2 separate regions of the Homo sapiens genome follow, and region 1 is linked to region 2. The links are contacts of gene promoters, found by promoter capture Hi-C in human tissues and cell types (Jung and others, 2019). All regions are on one chromosome and are shown on one strand. The core of a region is centred on a gene start or on the middle of the fragment in contact, and the rest is flanking DNA. Distances in the headings are between cores, read along the strand shown. Region 1 overlaps WBP1L (WW domain binding protein 1 like). Region 2 holds the start of NT5C2 (5'-nucleotidase, cytosolic II).

What was found. Contacts are between HindIII fragments. The study calls those that stand out against the background at their distance.
Region 1: a fragment that was not itself captured here is called in contact with the fragment with the promoter of NT5C2 in region 2 in 1 of the 25 tissues and cell types used here (hippocampus).

Annotation. Positions count from the first base shown.
Region 1 is chr10:102,756,799-102,762,686 of GRCh38, reverse strand. All of the region lies in intron 1 of WBP1L (WW domain binding protein 1 like), which reads right to left. Among named protein-coding and RNA genes, the nearest start is that of WBP1L, 16 kb to the right of the region's middle. The HindIII fragment of the contact is 5,932 bases long and covers 1-4,806 here.
Region 2 is chr10:103,188,879-103,194,811 of GRCh38, reverse strand. It overlaps NT5C2 (5'-nucleotidase, cytosolic II), which reads left to right and starts at 1,540. Exons shown (of 19, transcript NM_001351169.2): 1 at 1,540-1,576. RefSeq lists a silencer at 1,446-1,725 and enhancers at 1,424-2,110, 2,111-2,799. The HindIII fragment of the contact is 10,406 bases long and covers 1-4,712 here.

The DNA.
Region 1 (5,888 bases), core at 591-3,090, 430 kb after region 2:
TTCTCTCTTCACTAAAAATTGAGGGCAAACGTCGTAAGTTAATCTTTCACTTTATCCACTAAGCAAAGGTTGGAAATGGATGTGTGTGTCAAAGAAAATGAAAGACCAAGTTTTGCAGGGTGGAAGAAAGGTTATGGTTAAAACGCCACTACTAGACCTGTTCAAGTAAGACTGAGAATGCTGGGATTGGAAGAGCACTTTTGATTCTCATGGGATTAAGGGTACTGTTGGGAGTAACATTTTTTCAAGTAGAGGAACTTCCTGAGGGCTAATTACTTAAGAAAACTGAAGAACTGTCATAATTAGCTGAATTTTGTAGTAATATTTTTATTCTTAGATCTTATTTAAATTCTCAAGTGCAAGATCCTATCCTACAACATTAAGGGATTATTGTCAAGTTTTCTGGGTATGCTATGGGATGACTAATGTTGAGGAACATTGTTATCTTTCAGAGATTCATTTTTTATTTATTTTTACTTCTTCATTTTTTGAGACAGGGTCACCCAGGCTGGAGTGGTGCGACCACTAAAAGATGGCCAGCTGTAGCGGCTCCTGTCTGTAATCTTAGCACTTTGGGAAGCTGAGGTGGGAAGAATGCTTGAGGCCAGGAGTTCTAGACCAACGTAAGCAACATAGGGAGACTCCGCCTCTATAAAAAAATTGTTTTAAAAATTAGCTAGATGTGGTGGCACACACTTGCAGTCCCAGCTACTGGAGAGGTTAAGGTAGGGGGATTGCTTGAGCTCAGGAGTTTGAGGCTACAGTGAGCTGTGATCACGCCACTGCACTCCAGCCTGGGCAACAGCAAGACACTGTCCCTAAAAAATTAAACATTAAAGGCCTGGCACAGTGGCTCACACTTATAATCCCAGCACTTTCGGAGGCCGAGGTGGGTGGATCACCTGAAATCTGGAGTTCGAGACAAGCCTGGCCAACATGGTGAAACCCCATCTCTACTAAAAATACAAAAAATTAGGCCGAGGTGGGTGTATCACGAGATCAGGAAATTGAGACCATCCTGGCTAACACAGTTAAACCCTGTCTCCACTAAAAATACAAAAAATTAGCTGGGCATGGTGGAAGGTGCCTGTAATCCCAGCTACTCAGAAGGCTGAGGCAGGAGACTCACTTGAACCTGGGAGGCGGAGGTTGCAATGAGCCAAGATTGTACCATTGCACTCCAGCCTGGGCAACAAGAGTGAAACTCCGTCTCAAAAAAAGAAAAAATTAAACATAAAAAAATTTAAGGCTGAGTGTAGTGGCTCACGCCTGTAATCCCAGCACTTTGGGAGGCCGAGGCAGGCAGATTGCCTGAGGTCAGGAGTTCCAGACCAGCCTGATCAACACAGGAAAACCCCATCTCTACTAAAAATACAAAAATTAGCCAGGCATGGTGGTAGGTGCCTGTAATCCCAGCTACTTGAGAGGCTGAGGCAGGAGAATCACTGGAACCCAGGAGGTAGAGGCTGCAGTGAGCCAAGATCGCGCCACTGCACTCCAGCCTGGGCAGCAGAGTGAGACTCCGTCTCAAAAAAAAGAAAAGAAAAGAAAAAAAAAAAAAAAAACAGCCTGGCCAACATGGTGAAACCCTGTCTCTACCAAAAAACACAAAAAATTAAAAAATAAAAAAAAATTAGCCAGGTGTGGTGGCACACACTTGTATTCCCAGCTACTAAGGAAGCTGAGGAAGGAGAATCACTTGAACTCGGGAGGCAGAGGTTGCAATGAGCCGAGATTGTGCCACTGCACTCCAGCCCAGATGACAGAGACTCCATCTCAAAAAAAAGTGGGGGCAAAACAGAACGGGAGAAAACATTTGCAATTTATATATTGGATAAAAGATTCATATAGATGTCCTAACTGTGTGACTGTTCAGAAGCTGAACTGTAAGCATATGCACTAAGACTCCCCAAACGAGCGGGGAGCCTTCTCTGACCACATGGGCCTCTTATCACAGAATGGCTGGCCTCAGAGCAGTCTCTGGGCAATGCTGATGGAAATAAGGAAGACTCGGCCAGGCACGGTGGCTCACGCCTGTAATCCCAGCACTTTTGGAGGCTGAGGCAGGCGATCACCTGAGCTCAGGAGTTCGAGACTAGCCTGACCAACATAGAGAAACCCCGTCTCTACTAACAATACAAAATTAGCAGGGCGTGGTGGTGCATGCCCGTAATCCCAGCTACTCGGAAGGCTGAGGCAGGAGAATCGCTTGAACCCGGGAGGCGGAGGTTGAGTTGAGCCAAGATCGTGCCATTGCACTCCAGCCTGGGCTACAAGAGCAAAACTCCACCTCAAAAAAAAAAAAAAAAAGAAAGAAAGAAAGAAAGAAAGAAACAAGGAAGGCTCAGAGAGGTTAAGTGGCCCAGGGTCACAAGACTAGGCAGGAACATAGCCAGGTCTGGAAATGCCAGAGCCCTGACCGAGCCCAGTTTAAAAGAAAATCTCACCCTGGGCATCACTCACTGGGAAGAGCTCTGGCCCCCGAGTCAGATAAGGGTAAATGGACAAAGGATTGAATAGAAATTTCTCCAAGGAAGATACACAAATGGCCAATAAGAACAGGAAAAATATTTGATATTACTAGTCATTAGGGAAATGCAAATCAAAATCACAATGAGAAACTACTTCACACCCACTAGCATGGCTGTAATTAAAAAGGCAGACCATAACAAGTGTTGGAGAAATTGAAACTCTCATACATTGCTGGTGGGGGTGTAAAATGGTGCAGCTGCTTCAGAAAAGTCTGGAAGTCTCTCAAAAAGTTAAACATAGCATTACCAAATAACCCAGCAATTCCACTACTAGGTATATACCCAAGATAATTAAAAACAAGTCCACATAAAAACTTGTACATCAAGTCAGGCAGAGTGGCATGTGCCTGTAGTTGCAGCTACTCAGGAGGCTGAGGCAGGAGGATTCGCTTGAGCCTGGGAGTTGGAGGCTGTAGTGAGCTATGATCTTTCCTGTGAATAGCTTACTCCCCAGCCTGGGCAATATAGTAAGACCCCCATCTCTACAACAAACAAACAAAAAAACTTGTACACCAACGTTCACAGCAGCATTATTCATAATAGTCCCAAACTGGAAACAGCTCAAATGTTCATCAATTGATGAATAAATAAAATGGAGTATATCTATAAAATGGAGTATTAATTTGTAGGCAAAGAGTACCCAGGTGCCAAGGCAAGAGACTGAAGGCACAAACTATTTCAGTATAATAAAGAAAACAGAATAAGAATAGTCATAATACAAATTAGATACAGAGATGATCATGGACAATTATCAATCATTATTATAAACATTATTAATCATTAGCTTTTAATGTTACTTTTTGTTGCATTACTAATATAACCTAGGAATAACCGGCAGGTATAGGGTCAGGTGCTGAAGGGACATTGTGAGAAGTGACCTAGAAGGCAAGAGGTGAGCCTTCTGTCATGCCCGCATAAGGGCCGCTTGAGGGCTCCTTGGTCAAGCGGTAACGCCAGTGTCTGGGAAGGCACCCGTTACTTAGCAGACCGCGAAAGGGAGTCTCCTTTCCTTGGAGGAGTCAGGGAACACTCTGCTCCACCAGCTTCTTGTGGAAGGCTGGATATTATCCAGGCCTGCCCACAGTCATCCGGAGTCCTAAACCCCTCCCTGTGGTGCTGTGCTTCAGTGGTCACGCTCCTTGTCCACTTTCATGCTCCTCCCGTACTCCTGGTTCCTCTTTGAAGTTCGTAGTAGATAGCGGTAGAAGAAATAGTGAAAGTCTTAAAGTCTTTGATCTTTTCTTTGTAAGTGCAGAGAAGAAAACGCTGACGTATGCTGCCTTCTCTCTCTGCTCTGGCTACCTAAAAGGAAGGGCCCCCTATCCTGTAAGCACGTGACCTGCTTCACCTTGTCAACCACTTAGAAGACTGACCCTCCTTACCCTGCCCCCTTGTCTTGTATGCAATAAATCTCAGCAAGCCCAGCTGCTCGGGGCCACTACCGGTCTCTGCATCTTGATGGTAGTGGTCCCCCAGGCCCAGCTGCTTTCTCTTTATCTCTTTGTCTTGTGTCTTTATTTATTACAATCTCTCGTCTCCGCACACAGGGAGAACACCCGCTAAGCCCCATAGGGCTGGACCTACATTAATTGACCATAAAAAGGTATGAAGTATTGATACATGCTACAACATGGATGAACCTTGAAAACATGCTAAGTAAAGAAAACCAGTCATAAAAGACCACATGGTGTATGGTTCCATTCATATGAAATGTCCAGAATAGATAAATCCATAAAAACAGGAAGTAGATGAGTGGTTGCCAGGGACTGGAGGGAAGAAAATAAGGGGAATGAATGCTAATGGCTATAAGGCTTCTTTTTGGAGTGATGAAAATAGTCTAAAATTAAGATAGCGGTGATGGTGGCTCACCTTGTGGATATATTAAAAACCACTTAATTAATACCCTTGAAAATGGTGAATGTTATGGTCTGTGAATTAGATCTTAATAAAACTGTTACTAAAAAAAAAAAGGGCTGTGCATGGTGGCTCACGCCTGTAATCCCAGTACTTTGGGAGGCCGAGGCGGGTGGATCACATGAGGTCAGGAGTTCGAGACCAGTCTGGCCAACATGGGGAAACCCCGTCTCTACTAAAAATACAAAAATTAGCCAGGCGTGGTAGCGGGCGCCTGTAGTCCAGCTACTCAGGAGGCTGAGGCAGGGGAATTGCCTGAACCTGGGAAGCGGAGGTTACAGTGAGCCGAGATCGTGCCATTGCACTTCAGCCTGGGTGACAGAGTGAGACTCTGTCTCAAAAAAAAAAAAAAAAGGGGGGGGGGGAGGGCAGGTACAGTGGCTCATGCTGTAATCCCAGCACTTTGGGAGGCCGAGGCAGGAGGATCACTGGAGGTCAGGAGTTCAAGACCAGCTTGGTCAACACAGTGAAACCCAGTCTGTACTAAAAATACAAATATTAGCTGGGCATAATGGTGCACGCCTATAGTCCCAGCTACTAAGGAGGCTAAGGTGGGATGATCGCTAGAACTCAGGAGGTCAGGCTGCCATGAACTATGATCATGCCACTGCACTCCAGCCTGGGTGACACAGGGAGAGCTTGTATCAACAAAAAAAAAAAAAAAAAAAAAAAGGCTCAGAAACCATCTTCCCCTGAGAACAGGAAGTGCCAAATGGAGGTTGGGGACAGAAGTTAAGGATCCCCCTCACTGCAGCACAGTACTGTGTATGAGAGCAGACAGAGCCACATGTGGTCTAGCCCTGTGGTCAAGATGGGTGACGACCCCCATACTTGACAAACAGTGCCCATCCGCCTTGGCGGTGACCCCATCACTCTTCTCACTCAAGGGCACGATGATGTGCAAACAAGAATAATAGTATCGCTGGGTGCGGTGACTTGTGCCTGTAATCCCAGCTACTTGGGATGCTGAGGCAGAAGCACTTGAGGCCAGGAATTCAAGACCAGCCTGGGGAACATAGCAAGACCCTGTCTCTATAAAAAATTTAAAAATTGGGCTGGGTGTGGTGGCTCACATCTGTAATCCCAGCACTTTGAGAGGCTAAGATGGATGGATCATTGAGGACAGGAGTTTGAGACCAGCCTGACCAACATGGCAAAACCTTGTCTCTATTAAAAACACAAAAAAATTAGCTAGGTGTGGTGGCAAACGTTGGTAATCCCAGCTACTCATGGGGCTGAGGCCCGAGAATTGTTTAAACCCAGGAGGCAGAGACTGCAGTGAATTGAGATTGTGCCACTGCACTCCAGCCTGGGCAACAGATCGAGACTCTGTCTCAAAGATACAGAGACTCGCTCTGTTGCCCAGGCTGGTCTCGAACTCCTGGGCTCAAGCGATCTGCCCACCTCAGTCTCCCAAAGTACTGGGATTACAGGCGTGAGCCA
Region 2 (5,933 bases), core at 291-2,790:
CCTCAGCCTCCCGAGTAGCTGGGACTACAGGTGCGTGCCACCATGCCCAGCTAATTTTTGTATTTTTAGTAGAGATGGGGTTTCGCCATGTTGGTCAGGCTGGTCTTGAACTCCTGACCTCAAATGATCCACCTGCCTTGGCTTCCCAAAGTGATGGGATTACAGGTGTGAGCTACCACGCCCCGCCACCCTGGCCTTTTTTCAAATGCACTTGGTTTAAAGATTGTGTTATGCCAGCTTCCAACCCCTATTCCTCTTTTCCATATATCCTGAGAAATTTAGAAGGTGAGGGGCCCAAGGTCTATCCTTAGCTGACCTGAAGCGAAGTTGGCTGAGAAGCACAAGAAGGGGTAGAAGTGCTCTGGCGGAGCACTTATTAAAAAGACGCGGAGGTTTTGGTTGACTGCAAGCCCAATATGAGTCAACAGTATGGGTGCCAAGAACTTTATCGCAGGAGTGCAAAGCGATAGGTCCCAAAAGGAGGAAGCTATAGTCCTGCTTTGCTCTGATGATACCACAAACATTTGGTTCAGTCTTGGGTGATGTATTCTAAAGAAATCACAGTCAAATCTACCATTTGCGTGAGAGGGATAAAGACCCTCAAAACCAGGGCAGAGGAGGAACAATGGAAGGAACGGGAGACACTGATGTGGAATGAGAAGACCTTGGGCAGAGGTGATAGAAGTAAAGTATCTGAAAAGTCAAAGGTCCAGGAGAGATTAGACGTTTGTTCTCTGTGGCTCCAAGGCATCGAATTTCGGCCCTGAGAGTGGAAGTTTAGACACATTTTCTCACTGGTGAGAGCTGCTCGGACCAAGGAATTCAGTCCTCTGGAAATAGCTAGCTGCTTTTGCGGAGTCTTCCTGCTGAGTTGCTGGTGGTGGGGTGAACATTTATTGAGTGCTTACTGTGTGCCAGGATCCTGCTGAGGGCCTCACCTATATTGTGTGATTTCATCCCGTCAACACCCTTTGATGTGGGGACTGTTGTTCCCTATCCTGGTGCTACAAATGTGGGCACCAGGTATAGGAGGTCAGGTACCTCGCCCGAGGTTACAGTTTGTAAGTGGTGGTACTGGGACTGGAACTCGTTCTGACAAACTTCAAAGCTGGTGTTTTTAGCCATCAAGGGGATTCGAGGGTGCCATGGGGGTGTGGACGCATGAGGGGCCTTGAGGTCCATTAGACCAAAACATTCTGTGACTGGGAAAAAGGATGCCCTCTCCTCCCAAGGAAAAGCTTCTTCTGAATGAGACACAGTGGAGAGGTTAGCCCAGGGCCAGGCTGAGGGGCGCAGGCAGAATGCCAAGGGATGGAGACCCTCAGAAGGGCAAAGCCGGTGTTCCATCGTTTGAAGATCTCCAGACCCGCGGGACAGACAGACGCAGCGCGGTCAGGGAGCGTCGGCTTCGCCGAACTCTGCGGCGGAGCTGGGGGACGGAACAGCGCGCCGGTCCCTGGCCGGGCGCGAGCAGAGGGGCGGCGCGGGGCGGTGCCGGGCGGCGGGGGCGGGGAGGGCGCGCGTTGAGGCGGCTGCGGCAGTTGCGCGCTGGGATTGTTGCGGTGCGCTGGAGCCGGTGAGTGCGGCGGGCCCCGTGGGCGGGCGGGGAAGGAGCGGGCGAACGGGGAGCTAGGTGGGGAGGTGCGCGGCCGAACACGCGACCCCAGGGTAGCGGCCGCCGCCTGCCCCCGCCCCCGGCCCCCAGGGACCATGGCCCCAAGGCCCCTCTCCTTAGGCCGAGTCCCCGCCAGCGCGCTCGCGGACGCCGCACGCCTCCCAACTCCCTCGGTGCGGCCCCCGCCCCACGGCAGCCCCTTCCTCCGCGCCGCCGCGACGCCTCCGGCCCACGTCACGCTCGCGCCATTGTTTCCCAGCCGCCGGCTCGCTGGGACCCCGCCTCAGCCTCCCAGCGCGGCCGTTCGCCGCGTTCCGCCCTCTTCCCCCCTTTCCTCACGCTGGTGGTAGCCCTTTCCTCAGTCCTGCTGACGTCCTCCAGCTGATTCCAGGCTGTTCCCGGCCACCCCTGAGGCCGTCTTTTCGCTTCTTGTAAAAGCCTCCCCGCCCCCAGAGCTCCTCGGTCGCCTCCCGAGAAGCCAAGGGGCCTCTGGTGGAGCGCCAGGTTGACAGCGTTTTAGCAGGACCGCGAGAAACGGCCAGCTCGTTTGCCACACGCCCGTGTGCAACACTTCCTGGAAAGGTCACAGCGAATTGCAAGCCGCCACAAAAAACATCCGGACAGCTCCTGGTCAGGGGGCTGAGCCGTTCAGTGGCGGCCTATTCTTCTCCTTTTTTCGGGGCTCCTGAAATCGGAGAGGGCGAGATGCCGATCTGAGGCCTGAACCCTTAGTTTAAGAAAAACGTTTTGGGGGTTTGACTCCGGCAGGCCACAGCTTCTAAAAGCAGCAGGTAGAGGCTGCTGTCCGAATCGACGTTTTCCTGGGCTTTCACCTTTAGGGCCTTGATGTTTGAGGGGGGTCGTGCTCTGAAGTACAGCGCCCCGAAATGACTAGTCACCATTACAGGGGGGTGTGTGCGCGCCCGTCCAGGGGCCGATGAGTTCTTCAGGATTGAGCTGTACTTGGTTCCCAGTGTCTGTAGACTATTCATTTCGCCTCTTCAAGCAACGAATGCAAACTACTGACCATAATGTGAAAGGGAGAATATTGAAACTGTGTCATTTACCATGAAAACTTAGTGTTATTGCGTAGAGAAGGCTTTAGGTTTCAAAAATATTTACCACATGGCTTTTCAACAACGGTTAGAATTTATCCAGATGAAGACATCCAGGCCTGAAAGGGTGAAGTTCGAAAAGAGAAAAAAAATAGGTGTGAGCTGAGAGTGGAAAAAAAAAAAAGAACAAAAAAGGTTAAGTTCAAGAAAACATAGCTGGTTAGTAATTAAAATAAAAACTCCACATGCAGGGTTGATACTAGCATACACAGACTTATTTCTGAAGTGCATTTCCATTGCAGTGTAAACCACTACATTTCAACAGTATAGGTAGCTGCATTACTCTCATTGACCCAGAATTAAGGTTTTAGGATTTAGTAACCAACAAATCTGTAAAATAAGGTGGAGGGGCGCGGGGTGGAGTGGGGGGGGTTCTGAAGGAGATGTTATGCAAGATTCCTTTCAGTTCAAAGGTTTGATGCCATTGTATGAAAATTTACCATCAGCTACAAGTTTTCAGAAGTTTGTAATTGTAAGAAGATTTATATAGATAGTATTCCCTTATAGTACCTGCCACCCTTAACCAGAAGACATCACATCTTCCTAAAGAAAGCCAGATTACAATAGAATGTTAGGCACAGAGGTGCTCATTAATCTTTCTCTAGGCTATTTCTCCTGTTTTATGGGGAAAGAGGAGTACATAAAACACAGGTTTTTTTTTTTAAGTATTTCCTCTCTCTCTCTTTTTTTTTTTTTTTTGAGACGGAGCTTTGCTCTTGTTGGCCAGGCTGGAGTGCAATGGCATGATCTTGGCTCATTGCAACCTCCACCTCCCGGGTTCAAGCAGTTCTCCTGCCTCGGCCTCCCGAGTAGCTGGGATTACAGGCATGCGCCACCACGCCTGGCTAATTTTGTAGAGACGGGGTTTCTCCAAGTTGGTCAGGCTGGTCTCGAACTCCTGACCTCAGGTGATCTGCCCGCCTCGGCCTCCCAAGTACTGGGATTACAGGCTTGAGCCACTGCGTCCGACCCTGTTGCTTAATTCTCTTACCAAAAGCTTAATTCAGTGAAATAGTAAATAACAACAAATCCCCAAAAACAAAAACCCACAACTTTGTCATGTTATGACTGTGCTCTTTTAAAGTACTTACATAGACTGGTTTTTATCTAGTACACTTGCTGTGTACATATTATTTGGGATTTTGCTCTTACCAATATTTCTGGGATGTCCATGTATTTAGAGAATTCATCTAATCTTCATTAGTAGATGCTCTCTAATGTGCCCCGGTAGTCAACAATGCCTGGCACACAGGCTCTTAGTAAATTTTTGTTGAATAAGTGTTGTAATGTTTTGAGGTTTTTAGACATTTAACACAAAATACTAACTATCACAAGGCATATGTTGAGTGACGTGAGCAGTAAAGGCAGTCATACTTTCAGCCAGGAGACATTGCATTTATTTAAGGGCCCGGATTTTGTAGTCTGGCTTGCTACTTAACATCATGCAACCTCGGGGAACTCAGTTAACCTTAGACAAGCTCACTCAGTTTCTCTCACCTTGAGAAGGGAAAAATAGAACAAATTTTACAGAGTTATGTGGATTAAATAGAATAATTCAGTTGAAGTGATACTGGCACACATTAAGTTCTCTATAAATGTTAGTTTTTTTTGCTCAGAGTGAAGGAATATTAATGTAGCTTGGTGGGATCAGGAAAAACAGTAACACTTCAGAGTAGGGAGAAGATGCTGAAGTGGATGTATTGAGGGTATGATTAATAGATTGTTCTCACTAAAAGGGTTTGGTAGAGCAGTAGTCTGAGATAAAACTGGAAAGAGAAATTCTGGTAAGCAGTTTACAAGTATGCTACATGGATTCTTTGCAATTAGAGCGGAGTGAATGACCACCTGAGGTCAGGAGTTTGAGACCAGCCTGGCCAACATGGTGAAACCCCATCTCTACTAAAAATACAAAAATTAATCAGGCGTGGTAGCGCATGCCTGTAATCCCAGCTACTTGGGAGGCTGAGGCAGGAGAATCGCTTGAACCCAGGAGGCGGAGGTTGCAGTGAGCTGAGATTGCGCCACGCACTCCAGCCTGGGTGACAAGAGTGAAACTCTGTCTCAAAAAAAAAAAAAAAAAAAAAGAAAGCCACAAAATTAATGCGGCAAACCGGCCAGGTGCGGTGGCTCACGCCTGTAATCCCAGCACTTTGGGAGGTCGAGGCAGGTGGATCACCTGAGGTCAGGAGTTCGAGACCAGCCTGGCCAACATGGTGAAACCCCGTCTCTACTAAAAATATAAAAAATTAGCTGGGCGTGATGGCGCCCACCTGTAGTCCCAGCTACTCAGGAGGCTGAGACACGAGAATCGCTTGAACCTGGGAGGCAGAGGTTGCAGTGAGCCTATATCGTGCCACTGCACTCCAGCTTGGGCGACAGAGCATCTCAAAAAAAAAAAATTCAGTAAACAGTAAAAGAAAAAAGTTAAAAAAATTATGACAGTCTTAATCTTTGTTTTTTTTTTCGTTTTTTTTTTTGAGATGGAGTCTCGCTCTGTCGCCAGGCTGTAGTGCAGTGGTGCGATCTCGGCTCACTGCAGCCTCCGCTTCCTGGGTTCAAGCGATTCTCCTGCCTCAGCCTACCGAGTAGCTAGGACTAAAGGCGTGTGCCACCACGCCCAGCTAATTTTTGTATTTTTAGTAGAGATGGGGTTTCACCATGTTGGCCAGGATGGTCTCAATCTCTTTACCTCATGATCCGTCCGCCTTGGCCTCCCAAAGTGCTGCGATTACAGGCGTGAGCTACCACGCCCGGCCCTTAATTTTAATTGTTAAAATTTGATAAAGAAGGTGGGTAGTAGACATATCAAATGATCATTATATTATTTTCTGTGTGTTTGAAATATTTCACAGTATTTTAAGATGAACCTAAAATAAAACATTAAAGAAACTCCATTAAACTAATGAGCCTATAAAAATATATATCCCACTGGGCATCTGTAATGAAAACATGCTAATACTCAGCAAGCTTACTGATTTTTTTTTTTAAGCCGTTAAATTTCAGGCATCAGATTTCAGTCTTCTCTTTCCAAGCACATAGTACAAGCAGGCTCTTTCATCCCACACTCTTTTTTTTTTTCCGAGACGGAGTCTCACTTTGTTGCCCAGGCTGGCTCGATCTCAGCTCACTGCAACCTCTACCTCCTGGGTTCAAGCAATTCTCCTGCCTCTGCCTCCCGAGTACTACAGGCATGCTGAGAATAC